2 separate regions of the Homo sapiens genome follow, and region 2 is linked to region 1. Evidence: promoter capture Hi-C in human tissues and cell types (Jung and others, 2019). All regions are on one chromosome and are shown on one strand. Each heading gives the region's core, a stretch centred on a gene start or on the middle of the fragment in contact. The rest is flanking DNA. Distances are from core to core; before and after follow the strand shown. Region 1 holds the start of OR2M7 (olfactory receptor family 2 subfamily M member 7). Region 2 has its middle 21 kb from the start of OR2T2.

The links. Contacts are between HindIII fragments. The study calls those that stand out against the background at their distance.
Region 2: a contact is called between a fragment that was not itself captured here and the fragment with the promoter of OR2M7 in region 1, in 3 of the 25 tissues and cell types used here (neural progenitor cells, ovary and small bowel).

Annotation. Positions count from the first base shown.
Region 1 is chr1:248,322,535-248,326,203 of GRCh38, forward strand. It overlaps OR2M7 (olfactory receptor family 2 subfamily M member 7), which reads right to left and starts at 2,034. Exons shown (of 1, transcript NM_001004691.1): 1 at 1,096-2,034. The coding sequence starts at 2,034. The coding sequence ends at 1,096. The HindIII fragment of the contact is 10,500 bases long and covers 1-3,669 here.
Region 2 is chr1:248,423,461-248,426,811 of GRCh38, forward strand. No RefSeq gene overlaps it. Among named protein-coding and RNA genes, the nearest start is that of OR2T2, 21 kb to the right of the region's middle. The HindIII fragment of the contact is 4,581 bases long and covers 1-3,351 here.

The DNA.
Region 1 (3,669 bases), core at 784-3,283:
CTCAAACAAATTAGCAAGAAGAAAACAAACAATCCCATCAAACTGGGATTGGGCTAAGGGACTTGAATAGACAGTTCTCAAGGAGATATACAAACGGCCAAAAAGCATAAGGAAAAATGCTGAACATCACTAATTATCAGGGAAATACAAATCAAAACCACAGTGCAATACAAACTCACTCCTGCAAGAATGGCCATAATCAAAAAATCAAACAATAATAGATGTTGACATGGATGTGGTGAAAAGGGAACCCTTTTACACTGTTGATGGGAATGTGAACTATTACAACACTAGGAAAAACAGTGTGAAGATTCTTTAAACAACTAAAAGTAGATTTACCATTTGATCCAGCAATACCACTACAAGGTATATACTCAGAAGAAAAGAAGTCATTATACAAAAAAGGTACTTACATGTTGCATGTTTATATCAACACAATTTGCAATTGCAAATAGATGGAATCAGCCTAAATGATCATCAGTCAATGAGTGGATAAATAAAAGGTGGTATATACATACCATGGGATACTATTCTTCCATAAAAATGAATTAATTAATAGCATTTGCAGCAACCTGGTTGGAATTGGAGACTATTATACAAAGTGAAGTCACACAGGCATGGAAATCCAAACATCGTATATTCTCACTCATATGTGCCAGCTAAGCTATGAAACACCAAGGCATAAAAATGATACACTGGACTTGGGGACTTGGAAGAAATGTTGGGGACTGGAGAGGGCTAAAAGACTACACATTAGGTACAGCGAACACTGCTTGGTTGATCGCTGCACTAAAATCTCAGAAATCACCATTAAAGAACTTATTAATGTAACCAAACACTATGTGTTTCCCAAAATGATAATGAAATTTAAAAATAAAAATGGAATGTCTTTATTGAAAATGCCTTATATTGTAGTCATAACTGAATTGAATATTAAAAAATCTAAAATAGTTTATCTGAAATAAATTATACTGGTACCCATCAATATGTTGAGCAATGCACACAATTAGTGATATTTTTAGGACTTAATAGAAAAAGAGAGACAATAAAAAGAAGACGTTAGCAGACAGCAAAACATGAAATTTATGAGGTAACTCAATCTCCAGACTTGCCCTTTCCTAAGATTTTCATTAATGCTCTGGTCACTTCCTTGTTGCGGAGGCTATAAATGAGAGGATTCAGCATGGGAGTGACGATGGTGTAGAATACAGACACCATCTTGTCCTGCATAGGAGAATGATGAGATGTGGGCTGAATGCACATGAACAAACCTGCTCCATAGTACATTCCCACCACCATGAGGTGAGAGGAACAAGTAGTAAAAGCTTTGCGACGTCCCTCTCCAGATCCCATGTGAATGACAGCCAGAATAACTCGAGCATAGGAAGTGATGATGATTGCAACAGGGAAAACAAGCATTACTATACAGCAGATGAAAATAACCTCTTCAAATATTGATGTGTCATTGCATGAGAGGATTAGTAGGGAAGGGAAGTCACAGCAGAAGTGGGCTATTTCCCGAGACCCACAGTAGGAGAAGGAAAATGTCGCTACAGCATCAATGATTCCATCTGTAGAGCCCAGGATCCAGGAGAAGGCAGTCATAAGTCCACAAATTTTGGGTCTCATGAGATTGGTGTATCTTAGAGGGTGGCAAATGGCAGTGTAGCGGTCATAAGACATAACAGCCAACAGAAAGCATTCGGAGCCAAGCAATGATATATAGAAGAAAATTTGTGTGGCACAGCCAGCCATAGAAATGGACTTGCTGCCAGACAAGTAGTTGAAGGCCATCTTGGGTACAGTGGTGCAGATGAGCATGAGGTCCATGAGGGACAGTTGGCTGAGGAGGAAGTACATGGGGGTGTGGAGCTGGGTATCCAGGTAGATGAGGAGAACCATGATGGAGTTTCCCATGAAGGCCACTGAAAAGATGGCCAGGACCAGAAAGAAGAGGAAGGTGTGGGTGGGGCTATGATTGAAGATTCCCAGGAGGAGGAAGTCAGAGTTGAAGGTCTGATTCTCCCATGCCATGATGAATATGCCTGTTACCTAGCACCGCAAAAACAGTTCATTAATTTGATAAACATTTACCCAGTGCCTTATAAAGCATGTGATTATGGTAAATTCTGTAGTTTGGTGATCAATACAGGATGGCCAGAATTATAAAACTCAAAGTTTAAGAATTATGGAATCATAAAGAAATATGTTCTCTCAGCAGTGTCTCACTTATAAAATTATGGAGCTTGTCCTAACTTTTCTTCTAAGCATTCTTTTTCTCCATTGAAAAATTACAATAACAATATCTACTACATGATCAATGGAGTTTTTCCAAAAAGAATATGTCTCCAAAGCAAACAGTTCCTAAAACATCAGAAGCCTGTTACAGGTAAATTGATAGAGAAATTCAGGTTCAGTCACCATGTGACCAACACAATACTAGAAATGGACAATAAATTTGTGCCTTTATTCACATGATAGTAGGCATTTTTCCTACCAGAGTTAAGAAAATGTGTATGTTTACCTATTACTTTACAGTTTAAAGTATTTTATCTATACTTTATAGTAAGTTTTCTATACAGTAAGTGGATTCACTGAAAAGATTTTCAATTATACAAATCTAAGACATATGCTCTTTTTTCTATAGCCCAGTGTGATGCATTGAATTATGTTTCTTCCCCAAAAGATAGCAAGTGAGCTTGTTTAGAAATACATAAAGGGTATAATTAGTTAAGGTGAGGTCAAGTTGGAGCAGAGTGGGTCTCTCTAATTCAATATGACTCATGTTCTGATAAGTGGGTGGCCATGTGAAGACTGAGACACTGAGGATACCATGTGATAGGGGAGGCAGGGATTGGAGTGGTGCATCTACAAATCAAGAAATGCCAAAAACTGTTAGTTATAACAGGAACCTGGGAGAGAGGAATGGGACAGATTCATCCTCTTAGAGCCCTCAGAAGTGTCCAACCCTGCTGACAACTTGATTTCAGATTTCTAGACTCCAAAACTATGAGAGAATAAATTTCTATTGTTTTAGGTAACCTGTTTGTGATTTCTCTGTACTGGCATTCGTAGGAAATTAATACATCCAATATATCCTATAGAAAATAAGTAGATATAAAAACAGAAATTAAGAAAAGCATGAGATTCATCCTTTCAACAACATTTATGAAGCCTGGCTATGTGTTGATCACTGGGGCTACCACAGTGACCAGAATAAAGAAAGCCCGTGTCCATACAGGTCATAGTGAGTGTGATCAGATGATGATTATAAAACACTTTATGTCATAAGAGGATAAACATTTTGGAGAAAAGTAAGTCAAAGAAGGGTGTTAGAAATGCACTAGTATGTTCACCTTTGAATAAAGTAGTCAAGGGAAACCTCACACATCTAATGGCTTTTGGCAAAGACTCTGAGCAAGTGAGAAAGACACCAGATCACAGGAAAGGGTTGTACGTATATAAATTCCACAAAATGAAATGCAATAAATAGAACATACACAGAGAAAATAGAAATGTGTGGAAGATTTTGGGAAAACATAGGGTTTTCTAATTTAGAGTTATGTTTCTTGTATGTTGTGGCATTAAGTTTTTATTGTGTGAGATAATAATAAATGTATGAGCAAAGCCAATATGTGAAGGGAGATTATTCCAGGCAGTAAAAAATGA
Region 2 (3,351 bases), core at 7-2,506, 100 kb after region 1:
CAGTTCCACCTATGGAGAAGCTCAAAGTCAGGAGGCTTTCAATGAGCCTGCAGCAGGAGAATATGATCTGGAGACCTGGAGACAGGGAACTTAAGGCCAATTTATGCTAACTTCCTAAAAGAGAAAACACCAAGGTCTGGAAGCAGGACCTGGACAACTTGTAGTCAAGACCCTCCACTGGTAACAAGCCCATATTGGTACCTTATTTCCAAGTTCACACAACTTCTTTTGGGGAGGAGAGTCCTTAGTCTTCTCTGAGGTCCTGCATTGGGCACCAAATAATGTTGATGAAGAAAAGTGAAACTCTAAAATATTTGAAGAGGTTTATTCTGAGCCATGAGTGACCATGGCCCAGGACACAACCCCAGATGTTCCTGAGAATATGTGCCCATTGTGGTTGGGTTATAGCTTGGTTTGATACATTTTAGGGAGACAAAGTTATAATCAAAGAGATAAATCAATACATGAAGGGTATATATTGGTTCCAGAAAATTTAGACATGTTAAAGTCAAGGCTCCCAGGTCAGAAATAGATTCACCAATTTTCTGATTGGCAATTGGTTGAGTTAAGCTTTGTCTAAAGACTTAAAACGTCAGTAGAAAGGAATGCATAAGATTACATAGTTGTGGAAGCCAAGGTTTTTGTTATAGAAAGAAACGCTTGAGTTAAGATAATGGGGTTGCGGAAGCCAACGTTCTTGTCATGTAGAGGAAGCTTCCATGTATCAGGCTTTAGAAACAATAGTTGGCAAATGTCTCTCTTTCACCTTAAAAGGTGTCAGGTTCTTAGTTACTCTCTCCTGGATCTGGAAAAGGCTTAGCGGCATTAATAAAGTTTCTCTACAGATGCAAAATTTCCCCCACAAAAGATAGCTTTGCAGGGCCATTTCAAAATTTGTCGAATAAATATATTTCAGGGTAAAGTATTTTTATTTACTTCATGGTTTGCTATCTGTCATGTGGTGCTATATGAGAGTCAGGTTGAAATTTAGTATCTTATTACCACCTATAATCTGTTTTGTCAGTCTCATGATCTCTGTTTTAATGTTAATGCTGGTCAGTCATTTAGCACTCAATGGAAATGCTAGAGACCACAAGTATTTAGCTTAACTCTTTCAACAAATTGCCAGTCAAAAAACTTTTTAATCCACCTATGAAAGCTTCTCAGTAGCAGGCTTCAGAGAGGATAGATGGTAAAAGGTGTCAGACTCTTAGTTAAATGTTTTCTGGATCCTTATGAGACATAGAAAGGGAAGCAGATTCTATACAGAATTCAGATTTCCCCCAGAAGAGTTGGCTTTGCAGGGCCATTCCAAAACATGTCAAAGAAATACATTCTGCGGTAAAATACTTTTATTTCCTTCAGGGCCTGTTATCTGTCATGTGATTCTATATCAGAGTCAGGTTGGAATTTGCTATTGTTGCCACAGTCTGTTTTGTCCGTCTTATAATCACTGTGTTAATGTTAATGCTGGTCAGTTGTACCTAAACTCCAAACAAACGGAGTACAAGGAGTCATGTCTGACCTCCCTTCCTGTCATGGCCTGAACTAGTTTTTCAGATTTCTTTGAGATCTCCCTGGGCAAGAGAGTTCCCATTCAGTCAACTACAGGGCTTGGGATTTATTTTATTATTATTATTATTACTATTTTCTGAGGTTGCAACACAGAGCCCAAGTAGGAGGTCTAATTTTGGATAGAGGCAGAAACACTGTCTCATGGAATGCAAGAGTAAATACAATAAAATCAGAGAGATGGAAAATAGAGTACACTCAAGTATGTTGCTTATTTTCAGTCTTCTGATGCCTAATCCCTCATTGTTTTGTAGTCACATGGTTATTTCTTGGTTCTTTTATAACATTTTTCACAACTGGATTGCTATGATTGTGCAGACACTGTCTACTAGAGTCAAATTTTGTTTTGAAATAGTTCATTATTTTATTTAACTGCGTAAACTAGTTTAGTCTATGATGAATTAATAGACAGATGTGAAAAATTTTAAACTCCTCTGTCAGGGCTCAGAACAAGATCCTTCCAAATATGGCTTCTTGATGAAATCTAAAAGTAAAACCCTAAGCCCCCCAATCAACTGAATGGATTCCCCTTCTTGGCCAGTGGAGCTGAGAGCAATCTGAAAAAGTAAATTTCAGGCCATGAGGGAAGGGGGATTGGGCACACCTTGTTGCACTCCCTCCATTGTGGAATTAACATTAAAATAGAGATCACAGGACTGACAAAACAATAAGATACCAAATTCCAACCTGACTCCCATATAGCATCACATGACAGATAGTAGACACTGAAAGAAATAAAAATATTTTACCACAAAATATATTTATATGACAGATTTCGAAATGGCCCTGCAAAGCTATCTTTTGTGGGGGAAATTTTGCATCTGCCATTAGTGCAGCTAGGCCTTTTCCAGATCCAGGAAAGATAGACTGTGAGGCTCACACCTTTTAAGGTCCAAAAAGAGACATTTACCATCTATTCTTTCTGAAGCCAGCTACATGGAGGCTTCATATATGTAACAAGAATCTTAGCTTCCACAAACTCCCTTACCTTAACTCAAACATTTTTTTCTACTGACTTCAAGTCTTTAGTTTAACTCTTTCAACCAATTGCCAATCAGAAAAATCTTTGCATCCACCTATGACTCATAAGCCTTCCACTTCATGTCCTGCTTTTTCAGGCTGAAACAATGTATATTTTACATGTATTGATTTATGACTTTGCCTGCAAGTTCTTTCCCTAAGTTTTAGGGAGACAGAAGTTACCCTGGGCACACTTTCTCAGGATCTTCTGAGGCTTTTCCCCGGCCATCGTCACTCATATTGGCTCAGAATAAACCTCTTTAAATATTTTACAGTGTTCAGCTTTTTCATCAAATGCAAACTTGACATACTAAATAAGCTGAAGAAAACTGAGAAAACCGAAGAGGTAGAAAAGTCACTTTCTGATTTTTTCTGCCCTTCTCCCCTGAGAGCTGTCCACAAAAGAATTCTCAGACCTACCTGTTCTGAGAGAAGGTAATAAGCCCTTTATTCCAGAGGGGCCCTGACCAATGCCCAGAGGGAAAAAAATGTCACATGGGGAGGCCACTAAGAATCTGAACAAACCTCGCTAAGTCCTCCTCCTAAGTTTATTTCCATTATATCATATTTTTAAATGTTCTAATCATACTTTTAAGGCTCGCATGCCTCATGAAACTTCTACTAAGTAAATTTGCTATACTTTTCTGTTGCTAATCTGTCTTTTGTTAGAAGTTACCAACCACGAACCTTTTGATGAGCAAGGAAAAAATGTCTTACTTCCCCCCCACCCCCGCCCCCTGTACCACTAATTATAAACTT